Linked DNA regions of Homo sapiens: all the other regions are linked to region 2. The links are contacts of gene promoters, found by promoter capture Hi-C in blood cells and fetal thymus (Javierre and others, 2016). All regions are on one chromosome and are shown on one strand. The core of a region is centred on a gene start or on the middle of the fragment in contact, and the rest is flanking DNA. Distances in the headings are between cores, read along the strand shown. Region 1 has its middle 68 kb from the start of PTGFRN. Region 2 holds the start of CD58 (CD58 molecule). Region 3 overlaps LOC105378927 (a long non-coding RNA gene).

Region 1 (4,070 bases), core at 410-2,909, 270 kb before region 2:
AAACTGGAAGACAGTCCCTCATTCCCAATGATGGAGAGAGTGTGACTGTTCCATGGAGAGTGGAGATTGAATAGTGGAGATGTTCACTGAAGTACCTTAGGCTAGAGCTGGCAAGCAGGGAAATGCCCTGTGTTAGTCAGGGTTCTCCAGAGGGACTAATAGGATAGATGTATATATGAAAGGGAGTTTATTAAGGAGAATTGAGTCATGTGATCACAAAGTAAAGTCCCATCTGCAAGTTGAGGAGCAAGGAAGCCATTGGTGGATCAGTCCAAGTCCCAAAACCTCAAAAATAAGGAAGCTGACGGTGTAGTCTTCAGTCTGTGGCCAAAGGCCTGAGAGCCCCTGGCAAATCACTGGTGTAAGTCCAAGAGTCCAAAAGCTGAAGAACTTGGAGTCTGATGTTCAAAGGCAGAAAGCATTCAGCACAAGAGAAAGAAGAAGGCCAGAAGACTCGGCAAGCCTGCTTGTCTATCTTCTCCTGCCTGCTTTATTCTAGCTGCGCTGGCAGCTGATTAGATTGTGCCCGCCAGATTAAGGGTGGGTCTGCCTTCCCCAGCCCACTGACTCAAATGTTAATCTCCTTTGGCAACACCCTCACAGACACACCCAGAAACAATACTTTGCATCCTTTAATCCGATCAAGTTCACACTAAGTGTTAACCATCACATGCCCACTGTGGGGCTGACAAAGCTTGATAGAAAGTTCTCCACAAGGCCAGGCATGGTGGCTCATTCCTGTAATCCCAGCACTCTGGGAGGCCAAGATGTGCAGATCACCTAAGGTCAGGAGTTCAAGATCAGCCTGGCCAATATAGTGAAATCTGGTCTCTACTAAAAAATACGAAAATTAGCTGGGCATGGTGGCAGGTATCTGTAGTTCTAGCTGCTTGGGAGGCCGAGACAGGGAGAGTTGCTTCAACCCTGGAGGTGGAGGTTGCAGTGAGCAGAGATCATTCCACTGCACTCCAGCCTGGGCAACAGAGTGAGACTCCGTCTCAAAAAAAAAAAGTTATCCGCAAGTGTACTGCTAAAACTAACTGGGGCATCCGCCACACTGTTGGTCGTTGTGCACTGCAGGAGCAAGGAGGAAAGCACACTGAGCCAGAAAAACTCCTTCCTCCTGCAATTTCCCTCCAGCACCCTCCACTGGCAAAAATGTTTAACATTATGTCAGCTGTTGATAGGAGAAATGTTTACAGGGTACAGCACCAGAATTGCAAAGCAGAGCAAAGAGTGGGCTTTGAGCTGAGAGATAGCACATTGATACCTGGCATACTGTGAAGCATAGTTCATACAGGAAAGGCAGGACAAATGCTTGGTCTGTCCCTTTATTCTCCAGTTTTCTAAATAAGTTAGGGTCCTGGAAACTTCCAAAGAGTACTCTAATAATTTCTGTCGTAATTGTTTTAAAAGCATTATGAACTCATGAATTTAAACATGTTTGAAGTGTTCAATCTGCTACAGTTATTATTCTTTTTGATTGGTAGCATATATTTTTAACTGATCCAGTGTATAAAGAATGTATGCTATCTTTCCTTTAGTGTTTAGAGGAGGAAAGATGAAAAACTATCTCAAAGCTTCTGGACACAAAAATCCTTATAGCATAGATACTTATAACATAAAGGGATCAGAACTGGGAAGGTTTTTTTTCTGTTAGTTCAAGAATTACCCTGAAACATGTGAGAAATCTTGCCCTTGAATGCACACTAGCTATAAAGTAAGGAAAGGAAGCTTTCTTAATCACAGATAGTTAGCTTGTCAGAGCTTTCCAACTGACATGTCATAAGCCATATACATATTAATGCTTTCAGTGTGTGCTATGAGGTGACAAAGGTTGGGAAACACTGGATTAAATGACTGAGGCAAATTTTATGTTCTAAAGGTGGCTGAAACAACATTTTTCACCTCGTGTGCTCTTTCACAATGTGACCTTGTACTACTCCATCAAGAGGTAGAGCCTACTTCCCTTCCCCTTGAATCTAGTCTGTCTAATTATTCATTTGTAACCAATACAATGAAGTAGAAGTGTGCTACGTGATTTCTTCAGCCATGTCAGAAAAAGTCTTGCAGCTACTGCCTGGTTCTTATGAGATGCTTGTCCTGAGGGAAGCTAGATGCTAGGTATGAAGTCCAACTACCCTGAGTTAGCTATATGGGAAAGGCCACATGTGAGTTCCCCAGTTGACAGCTTAATCAGCCACCATCACCTGCCAATCATGTGAATGAGACATGCTGGACATCCAGTCCTGTTGAATCTTCAGATGACTTCAGCTCCAGGTAACATCTGACTGTAACCACAAGAGAGATGCCAAGTGAGAAGTCCTAGGCACAGCCTTTTCAAAATTTTTGACCCACAAAATCATGAGTGAAATAATATGGTAGTTTTGGTAAGGTGTAGTAGCTCATGCCTGTAATCTCAACACTTTGGGAGGCAGAGGCGGGTGGATCACCTGAAGTCAGGAGTTTCATACCAGCCTGGCCAACATGGTGAAACCCCATCTCTGCTAAAAAAATTAGCCAGGCATGGGGGCAGGTGCCTGTAATCTCAGCTACCCAGGAGGCTGAGGCAGGAGAATTGCTTGAACCTAGGAGGTGGAGGTGACAGTGAGCCGAGATCCTGCTACTGCACTACAGCCTGGGCAGCAGAGCCAGACTCTGTCTCAAAAAAAAACTAAAAAAAGGCTGGACACGGTGGCTCACGCCTGTAATCCCAGCCCTTTGGGAGGCCGAGGCAGGTGGATCACGAAGTCAGGAGTTCAAGACCAGCCTGGCCAAGATGGTGAAACCCTGTCTCTACTAAAAATACAAAAATTAGCCAGGCGTGGTGGTGGGCACCTGTAATCCTAGCTACTCGGGAGGCTGAAGCAGGGAATTGCTTGAACCTGGGAGGCAGAGGTTGCAGTGAGCCAAGATCGGGCCACTGCACTCCAGCCTGGGCGACAGAGCGAGACTCTGTCTCAAAAACAAACAAACAAACAAACAAACAAAACAACAACAAAAAAACCCCACAAAATAATATAGTAGTTTTAAGGTGTTGTTTTGGACTAATTTATATCTCAGAAATAGTAGCTGGAATAAAGACCTCAAAGGCCTTCCCTACGTAGGTGACAGATCAAGATTGCATGTATACTTATGCATTATATGTACTATACAGAAGAGATTTTATAAATAAGGACCTAGTTCTTCTAGGCTCTGATCTGAGGGTCCCTCGAGTCCGCGGGCAAGCCCTGGTCATTTTTTGATAGGCGTCAAGTATCCTGAGTCACCTGTCTCGTCGTCTGGTATGACCTACTACACTTTCCAGGGCACTTATTGGAGTTTGAAGTTCTTCACTCATTCTGGCTAATAGCAGAAGAGGACCAGTGGCTTTCCTTCTAACATATCCCGTTATTTTAGCTGTTAGAAGAATATGTGGTTCTTGCAGAGGCAACGGGATGTGGAAGAAGGAGCATGAAATCTAGAGTCAAAAGACCTCGGCTCAAGATCCAATTAATTCACTTATAGCTGCATGACCTTAAAGAGTTTAACAGCCCTAGCCTCAGTTTCCCCATTTGAAAATAAGAAAAATAATTTGTGTCTCATAGAGATGTTGTGAGGATTAAATGAGACAATATTTATGAAACCCTAGGAGTTTCAACCAGTTTGTTTGCATTTCTTTTATTATTTTTATGCCTTTTCATTTTATTTTTAGAAAATTAAAAAATATAGAAAGTACAAAAAAGAAAAGAAGTATCATTCATATTCTTACAACTGGGAATTACCACCATTAATATGGTGATTAATTTATTTCCAGTTCTTTTTTTTTTTTTTTTTTTGAGATGGAGTCTTGCACCGTTGCCTGGGCTGGAGTGCAATGGTGTAATCTCGGCTCACTGCAACCTCCACCTCTCCACCTCCTGAGTTCACACAATTCTCCTCCCTCAGCCTCCTGAGTAGCTGGGATGACAGTGCCCACCACCACACCTAGCTAATTTTTTGTATATTTGGTAGAGATGGGGTTTCACCATCTTGGTCAGACTGGTCTCAAATTCCTGATCTCATGATCCACCTGCTTTGGCCTCCCAAAG
Region 2 (4,329 bases), core at 1,377-3,876:
AAGACTTTCAAAAGCTTTCGTGTGTGCTTTCCTCTGCTCCCAGAACCATTGGCTGCATCCTTATCAACTCCTTGCAGCTGCTGGCTTGGCCAGGAGTTGAAAATGTGACTGCCTCTCCCTTGGGTACCCATAATGGTTCCATGTTAAGTCTTATGTATAATTTTTCCTAATTTTTTTCTAATGTTCTTTTTCTGCCAGGGTATGTTTTAAAAAGGGAAATAGAGTATTATGGAATAAGATTACCCTTCTATGTCCTTCGTGCAAATCCAACCAGTATTTATATAAATGAATGTATGTTCCCTCATGAGGCATGCAATGAAAATGACAATTTGCATTTATGCAGGATTGAGCAGTGTTTTGCTCACTACATTCTGGGATTCCTAAGCTTTGTGGGAGTAGTTCCAAAGGTTTGGCAGAAACGAGAGTCAAGACACCAGAGAGTGGCATGCTAGGAAGAACAGCCCCGGCCTCTTCAGCTGCCCTCTTTTCTTACTTTCTCATCCATGATTATCTACAGTGACAAGAAGATAAAACTGGACCTTGCAATACTAGTCACAGCATGAAAAATACATCCACCCCTCCTTTTGATAGCAGGTTCTCAGTATGTAAAGGGAATCTTTTTGGCTGCCTGCTTAACGCATTGCAGGTCCAGCATTCCTGAGCTGCTTTTGATTCATAAAATTAACCAGGCATTTGAGGGCTTCTAAAAGTGCTTGATGGACAGCATTTCTCTCAATGAAAGAGCAGGCACTGCTCCTTGGTCAAAGGAGAGTCCAACCAAGGAAGCCTAATGAGTTATTCCTCACCCAATACCTGGAGACCATGACCTGGGGGTGAGGGGCTTCCCCAGCCCCATGTGACTGGGCTGTTCTTTCCTCAGCCCTGCTCTTAAGGGGCTTAACAGCTCTTGCTGGCAGTCCAAATGGCTGCATAGCTGTCAGTCCAAAAGTCCCATTATCATATCCCGTTCCTGTATGAAGGGATAAGAGTAGAGGCATTGGACATGGCCTCAGCTGGACTCCAAGTTCTGCCCTTTACTGTGTGCCCTGAGTAATTTACCTTCCCCAGGCATCAGTTTCCTCATTTGCAAAAACAACAGCAGCAGTAAGACTAAGTTAATCCAAGCAATGCACTTCACACAGGGCCTGCTCAATAGATGTTTGCTGTCATATCACTTCCCAGCTCAAAAACTTTCTGTGGCTCCCCAGTGTCTGAAGGTCTAACCCCATCCTGCCTTTCTAAGTTGGCCTGAGTTCCTACCAGCCCAGGGCAGAGAACACTTGATTTCCTCATATTTTATGTTACACACTGCCCCTGCCTTGTGTTCCCAGTATCTACAGATGGTAGGGAATATCTCGAGATAGCAGGTTTGTGGTAGAGGGCATTGGTCCCAGAAGTTTCACTGATAGAGATACCTTTTAAGATTTTATGGCTAACTTAAGAAATAATTCATGTCTCTTTGCAATATGGTTCAAGTGTCTTGAGTGACTTCGAGTCCCCACCTGGGGATAATGGAGGTGAAGCAGCAAGAAAGCACATTCCCACTCAGTTTCACAACCTGCACCATGTATGTGTTGGTGGTTATTTGGGCAGCAGGGAGTCCTGTTCATGGAAATGGATTCCTGCTCACATAATAACTAAGAGTTCTGTGAACTCCCTCAGCTGGGCAGGGGCAACTCTGGTGCTTCTGTCTGCAAGAAAGGGGACAGACAGGGAGGCTGATGTGAGGAGCTGGTTCTGGGAATAGGGTCATTTGTTCTGGGATATAGGGATGTGAGGGGAGGGCCAGCTCAATCCAGACTGATGAAGAGCGGGGAGAGTGATGAGTGCCTGCCTCAGCTTGGGCTGGATGGATGTGGGGAGGCTGGGCAGTGAGGGAGATGTGGATCTGACATCTCAGCCTGAGGGAAAGTCCCGGTTGAGATGGGGGAAGACAGAAAAAGAGGAATCTGAGAAGGGAGAAACCAAAGGCTGGAAATCCCAGCTCCGGGGATAAGGGAGTATGGGGACGGGGGAGGCCTGCCTCAGGTAACCCTACGCCTAACAGTTGTCTAAAATGCTCCCTTTCCTTGTCATGTTTGAGGAAAAGTGGTTCAAAGAGGCCGTCTGATGCGGGATCACACAGCGCTGAAGGGATGAGGGGCCCCGGGTGCTCCCGCCCGTCCTGCTGCCTCCTCCGGTGGCTCTCTGGGAGCCACAGCCCCGTCTAGCCACGGAGGGGCCTACAGCACGCCCCAAACGCTAAGGGGAAGCGCGGGAGGTGCGGTAGGAAGGCAGAGAAACCTGGTTTTTAAAACCAAGCCATTTTCAAGGAAAGAATTTCTTACTTTAAAACCTTGGTTTTTAAAACCAAGCCATTTTCAAGGAAAGAATTTCTTACTTAAAAATAGCGTATGGAATGGCGGCGGAATGACGGGAGGGACCGAGCTGGGGGACTGGACGGCGCCCCGGGGACACAGGAAGGAGGCGCGCAGAGCCGAGGCCAGAGGCGCGCCCGGGGAGTGGAAGCGCGAAGACAAACGCGGCGCCGCGGAGGGTGGGGGAGGAAGGGCCGGGGCGGGCCGCCGGCTGCCAGCCCAGGGCGGGGCGGAGCCCTACTTCTGGCCGACCGCGTAGGCGGTGCTTGAACTTAGGGCTGCTTGTGGCTGGGCACTCGCGCAGAGGCCGGCCCGACGAGCCATGGTTGCTGGGAGCGACGCGGGGCGGGCCCTGGGGGTCCTCAGCGTGGTCTGCCTGCTGCACTGCTTTGGTGAGTGAAGCCTGCCCCAGGGGCCCCGCGCCGGCCGGCGGGTACTGGGCAGCACCCAGGCTGGGTGGACGCGCCGGGCTCGAGGCGGTTGCCGATCAGAGACGGGTGGGGACGGGTCGCTGTGGGCCGGGAACAACTCAGCCGTGGGAGCCTTTTCAGGAAGAGAAAGTTGTTATTTCATCGCCAGTGTCCCTCATGGAGTCAGCAAGGAACTGTGTGGCCTTAGGGAAGGACGGGCTCCGGCCCGCTAGCCTCTCCTGCGGGGCCTGCGCCCCCCCGCCGGCCCCCTCCCGAGCTCCAGTGACCAAGTTCCTTCCTGGGCTTCCCCAGTAACGTCGCTGAGCGCTTCAGCGGACTGCAAAATTTTTCCCAGCCGTGAACGCGCCCGGGACGGGGAGCGGGCGCGGATGCCACCTGCTCGAGGGCGACGCCTGCTGCCCTCCCCGCGCGGTGCCGTCCCCGCCCGCGCGGCGTCCGCCGTATCAGCAGAGAGGACTTTTCAGAATCGCCCCACAGCGAGGAGCGGGTAGGCAACTAGGAAGCCCAGTCGGCAGCGGCCTCACGTTGGGATTCCTAAGTGGTGCGACTCCTGCTCCTTTTTCCTCCCCTCAAATCCTAAAAACTAGTATCAGAACTGGTTCCATCCTCTCCGTGTGTTGTCAGCCAAGTCGTCACAACAACCTCAGGAAATAGGTCCCCTTCTTCCCATTTTGCCTCCCCATCCTCCTTCACCCTCCACACATTGGCCCCAGTCAGGCCATAGCAAAACCCCGGGAGTACAGCAGTAACCTCCCAGCGAGTTCAACTGTACTTGAGGGGTTCTCATGGCTGGCTCCTGCACCCCACTGCCAGCCCTCCAGCCCGTCCGTCCGTTTGCTCAGCGTCCGCTGCCTGCCCGGGAGGTGCGCGTGTGCATCTATGGAAGACAGCCAAGGGGGAGGGGTTGAGATAGACTCAAAAGTACCCGCACGATCAGATAAGTCAGTGTTGTAAGAGGCCTGGGCTGGGCGTGGTGGCTTACACCTGTCATCCTAGCACTTTGGGAGGCTGAGGCAGGTGGATCACTTGAGGCCAGGAATCGGAGACCAGCAGGGCCAACACGGTGAAAGATCGGCTCTACAAAAAATACAAAAATTAGCTGAGCGTGGTGGCGCATACCTATAGTCCCAGCTACTCGGAAGGCTGAGGTGGGAGAATCACCTGAGTCCCGGAGGCAGAGGATGCAGTGAGCTGTGATTGTGCCACTGAACTCCAGCCTGGGTGACAGAATATGACCTGTCTCAAAAAAAAAAAAAAAAAAAAAAGGTGAGCTGTGAGGGTACAGAGGGAAGAAGAAGGCAGTCTCTTTTGTGAAATCAAGTGTCTTTTGTGAAGCAGTCTTCATGGGAGGGAGGATATTTGAGCCCAGCCTTCAAGGACTGGTGATGTGTGGACATGTGATAATGTGGGAAAAGATTGCTGAGTGTCCCCTTAGGGAGTCTGGATTCTCTGAGCTGAGAGAGCTTCTCCTGGGCCTTACAGGATCAGGACCATGCGCCTGGGAAGAAGAATCTGTTAGCAACAAAGAGGAAGGCTGCAGT
Region 3 (4,463 bases), core at 854-3,353, 310 kb before region 2:
ATGATGTTGATGTCTTTAGTCTACCAAGCAGTGGGGATAGCTGCCAGTGGGGGTGGCAGTAGTTGTAATGTTTGTTCATGAAAGTTGAAAACATCTGGCTGGGCACAGTGTCTCATGCCTGTAATCCTAGCACTTTGGGAGGCCGAGATGGGCAGATCACCTGAGGTTGGGAGTTTGACACCAGCCTGGCCAACATGGTGAAACCCCATTTCTACTAAAAATACAAAAATTAGCCAGGCGTGGTGGCACGTGCCTGTAATCCCAGCCACTGGGGAGGCTGAGGCAGGAGAATCACTTGAACCTGGGAGGCAGAGGTTGCAGTGAGCTGAGGTTGCGCCATTGTACTCCAGCCTTGGTGACAAGAGTGAAACTCCATCTCAAAAAAAAAAAAAGAAAGAAAGTTGAATACATCTGAGCCACCACTTCTCTCTGGCAGACAGCAGTAGGTTGTTTCACTGAGAATTATGAACAAGATAGTTATCCCTGGAGAGCTTATCTAGGAAGGGGTATCCTGGACAGGGCTGAAATTTCTGCTAGTAAAATGATTGTAGGCTCAATGTATCCAAGAGACTTCATTAGCTCTCCTCATTTGCTGGTATTCCAGCAGCCAAGATACAGAGAGAGGAAGTTTAAAAAAAAAAAAAACAGGAATTACTGGATGACCAGATCCATTTTATTACAGTGGGTAGTATAGGGATGAAATAGCAGGAGGGGAGGTTGAATAAGCAAGTTGCAGAGGGCCCAGAACATCAAGCTAAGGAGTTTCTTTTTGTTTTGTTTTTTGAGACAGGGTCTCACTCTGTCACCCACGCTGGAGTGCAGTGGCACAGTCATGGTTCACTGCAGCCTTGACTTCCCAGGCTTGAGTGATCCTCCTGCTTTAGCCTCCTGAGTAGCTGAGACCACAGGTGTGTGCCACAATATCCGGCTAATTTTTAAATTTTTTATAGAGACTGGGTCCCACTGTGTATAGAGACTGGGTCCCACTGTGTTGTCCAGGCTAGTCTTGAACTCCTGGCCTCAAACAATACTCCCACTTCAGCCCTGCAGAGTGCTGGAATTATGGATGTGAGCCACTGCGCCCAGTCAGGAGTTTCTTGCTTAGTGACTTCCAAGCTTTTTTTTTTTTTTTTTTTTTTTTGAGATGGAGTCCTTCTGTTACCCAAGCTGGAGTGCAGTGGTGTGATCTTGGCTCACTGCAACCTCCGCCTCCTTGGTTCAAGTGATTCTCATGCCTCAGCCTCCCGAGTAGCTGGGATTACAGGCTCATGCCACCATAGCCGACTAATTTTTGTATTTTTAGTAGAGATGAGATTTTGCCATGTTGGCCGGCTGGTCTCAAAGTCCTGACTTCAGGTATCCACCTGCCTCTGCCTCCCAGAGTGCTAGGATTACAGGAAGGAGGAACCACGCCTGGCCTTCTTCCAAGCATTTTTGATCATGTGACCCATTAGTATGAATTTTTTTTTAGCATTTTTCTGTCAAAATGAATACTTATCACTGCTGTACTAATATATGATGTACATCCTAAAACCTATTCAAGAATAGAAATTTAGCCAGATGAAGACAAATAATTATTAAATATAATTCTTTTTTTGGTACCCCAATAGATTTGTGTGCACACACCTGTGTTGGCAGCCACTGACTCAGACAACAGAAAAGGAGAGCCATGCTCTCAGAATAGGTGTGCTTAAGGTGGCATAGAAGGAACTGTAAGCCGGTAGAGTTTCAATGGAGTTCTTGATAGCTCTAGATCTGGGCAAGCACTGGCTCTCTCTGTGGTTTTATTACCAAGAGAATCTATTATTCAAGTGTGAACTCACCTGGATCCCTCCTCATTTTTCACATCTTTCTCCTTTCCCAGCTGTTCAGGGTTGGAATACTCATTGCATTGCTCCATATACTGAACAAATTGCACCGAGATCCGTAGACCTGCAACACTTCAAATAAAGGAAAATCATGTCTCATTCTGTCAAAGCTTTTTCTTGATCCAGCCTGAAAAGATATCCAGTTTGTCTTCTTCTTTTACCATGTGCTACAGCTTCTCTCTCATCACCAAAATCTTGATAGCTCCCTTTCTCTGGCGGCTTGTGTTGGAAACTCATGAATCACCCGATGGGCCAATACTGCTGCTCTGCGTAGGAGAATGTCTGAGAATATTGTGTAATATGCATTCAGCAGTGTGAATACGCACAGCTGTTGAACGTTAATTCTCTCGGCAAGCTTAAAAACACAAGTGCCAGTGCGTATTGAAGTTACAGTTCTGGCTGTTTGGTCCTTTTGTTTGTCCACAGTTGGTTGGAGAACATGGGCTTCCACTTTCCACCTGGTCCTGTGAAGGCTATCAGCCTATGCCCTTCTACTACTGCTACCTTAGTGGATGTGGCCCATTTCTTCACCTGCCAAGGTCAAGGACCTAGGTTCAACTAGTTATTCTAAGCCTAACAGGGGCAGGGAGTTGATAAGGACAGCAATGACTAAGCCAGAGCTTTGCTGCGACATTAGGGCAAGGCCAGCAGGGTGAGCAAGTGAGATGCTCAGGGCACAAAATGTAAGGAGGCCCTCATTCTCAGGGTCACACAAGTGCAGGGCCGGCACTTGCAAGTGATGCCTCCTTCAATTTTGCCCACTAGGCACCTCACTTGTCTCTCCCTAGTCCTGGCTTTCTTAAACCCCTTTGCCTGTCTGGATTGACTTAGCAACCAGGATTGAGCTTTCGGGATACGGGGAGAATGATAATTATTACCAGGGTTTAAGCTGAATCTCATCTTGTCTAAGCATACCCTAGATAGGGAGGTTTTCTCATTATTTCGGAAGGGCTGAGTCCAGATGGAGTTGGGAATACAGTCAGTGGTGATTCAGAGTTTTAGAAGTCTCGGCCAGGTGCGGTGGCTCACGCCTGTAACACCAGGACTCTGGGATGCCGAGGTGGGTGGATCACCTGAGGTCAGGAGTTCGAGATAAGCCTGACCAACATAATGCAACCCCATCTCTACTAAAAATACAAAAATTAGCTGGGTGTGGTGACAGGCGCCTGTAATCCCAGCTACTTGGGAGGCTGAGGCAGGAGAATCACTTGAACCCAGGAGGCAGAGGTTGCAGTGAGCCAAGATCGCACCATTGCTCTCCAGCCTAGGCAACAAGAACGGAACTCCGTTTCAAAAAAAAAAAAAAAAAAAAAAAGCAGTCTCTATCTGAGGCTAATGAAATATCGAGGTTAGGGGAAGATAAATAATTCCCGTCTCTTGCATATTCACACATGTCACCACAGCCCTTGGCAAGTGGACAGTAGCGGTCCCTCTGGTTACTGAGAACATTTGAATCATATGCCTGGGTCCTGTTGGTTTACGGAGCCCAAGCCTTTTGAGCTCTGACCAGTGGGCCATCTGTTACCAAGTTAAAAATGTTGACTCTGCAAGTCTGCTGCTCAGCCTCCTTGGCCTGTGTCTGTTACATACACCATTCTAGCACCTTGGCAGCAATACTCTGAGCGCAATTCCATTCACCATTTCATTCCTTCCAAGTCCTTCAGCAATGAATAGTACAGAATGAAATTCTTCCAGCTCATACACTTTTAACCTTTGCATAAACCTTAAGGATAAGCTAAAGGTTATCAAAATAGCTTCAATTGCACAGGTTAAACATCTCTCCTGCGTCTGGACGGTCAAGGCATTTGATAAAAGGAAAAAATGAGAGCAAAGAGTTTGTTTATTTTTCAAATTTTTAAGTGGAAACAATCTAAATGTTCAAAATAGGGAAGTAGCTAAGTCAATTATGGTACATCAACTTGAAGGAATGCTACCCAGCAATTAAAATGTCAGAAAATAACCTTATGAAAATACACTTATAATACAATGTTATAACATCAGGAAATAATCATAATACAGAATTATATTTCACTATATGGAACATGTGAGTGCAAGGATCAAAAAAGCATGCATATATAAAATCAGTTGCTTTGGGGTGGTAAGTTTAGTAGTGACTTCTTTTTCTCATTTGAACATGCTTTTAATGATGTTATTTACATAATGGTTATATAATGAATTTTTGATGTTTAAAGAATTCCTAAGCAATTTGGAAAAAATCAGATAATCTGATGAAGACTGGAGATTTGTTGTTGTCCAGTGACTGAGTAGATCCCAGTCTGAGAGGCCAGCACATGGGCTCTGAGTTCAAACTGTCTGATTTGAGACCATAACTTTGCCACTTTCTAGCTGTATTTTTACTTTTTATTTATTTATTTTTAAATTTTTATAGAGATGAGGTCTTACTATGTTGCCCAGGCTGGTCCCAAACTCCTGGGCTCAAGAAATCCACTTGTCTTGGCCTCCCAAAGTGCTGAGATTACAGGCGTCAGCCATCGCACCCTGGCCACTGCCACTTTCTAGCTATATAACCTTGAGAATATTCTTACCTCCTCTGTCAAATGGAGACAAGAATGACATCTGTTTCACAGGCTCTTG

What was found. The method cuts DNA at HindIII sites, captures the fragments that hold promoters and counts their contacts. A CHiCAGO score of 5 or more calls a contact.
Region 1: a fragment that was not itself captured here is called in contact with the fragment with the promoter of CD58 in region 2 in 3 of 17 cell types (M1 macrophages, M2 macrophages and M0 macrophages); the score reaches 8.2 in M1 macrophages.
Region 3: a fragment that was not itself captured here is called in contact with the fragment with the promoter of CD58 in region 2 in 4 of 17 cell types (M1 macrophages, erythroblasts, M2 macrophages and 1 more); the score reaches 7.7 in M1 macrophages.

The regions. Positions count from the first base shown.
Region 1 is chr1:116,839,908-116,843,977 of GRCh38, reverse strand. No RefSeq gene overlaps it. Among named protein-coding and RNA genes, the nearest start is that of PTGFRN, 68 kb to the left of the region's middle. The HindIII fragment of the contact is 154 bases long and covers 1,583-1,736 here.
Region 2 is chr1:116,569,323-116,573,651 of GRCh38, reverse strand. CD58 (CD58 molecule) reads left to right here and starts at 2,626. Exons shown (of 6, transcript NM_001779.3): 1 at 2,626-2,749. The coding sequence starts at 2,680. It overlaps LOC124904385 (a long non-coding RNA gene), which reads right to left and starts at 2,677. Exons shown (of 2, transcript XR_007066497.1): 1 at 2,599-2,677. RefSeq lists silencers at 2,425-2,884, 2,955-3,024 and an enhancer at 3,495-3,554. The HindIII fragment of the contact is 6,609 bases long and covers 388-4,329 here.
Region 3 is chr1:116,880,028-116,884,490 of GRCh38, reverse strand. LOC105378927 (a long non-coding RNA gene) reads right to left here. Exons shown (of 3, transcript XR_001737804.2): 1 at 4,415-4,463; 2 at 1,824-1,940. Among named protein-coding and RNA genes, the nearest start is that of PTGFRN, 28 kb to the left of the region's middle. The HindIII fragment of the contact is 245 bases long and covers 1,981-2,225 here.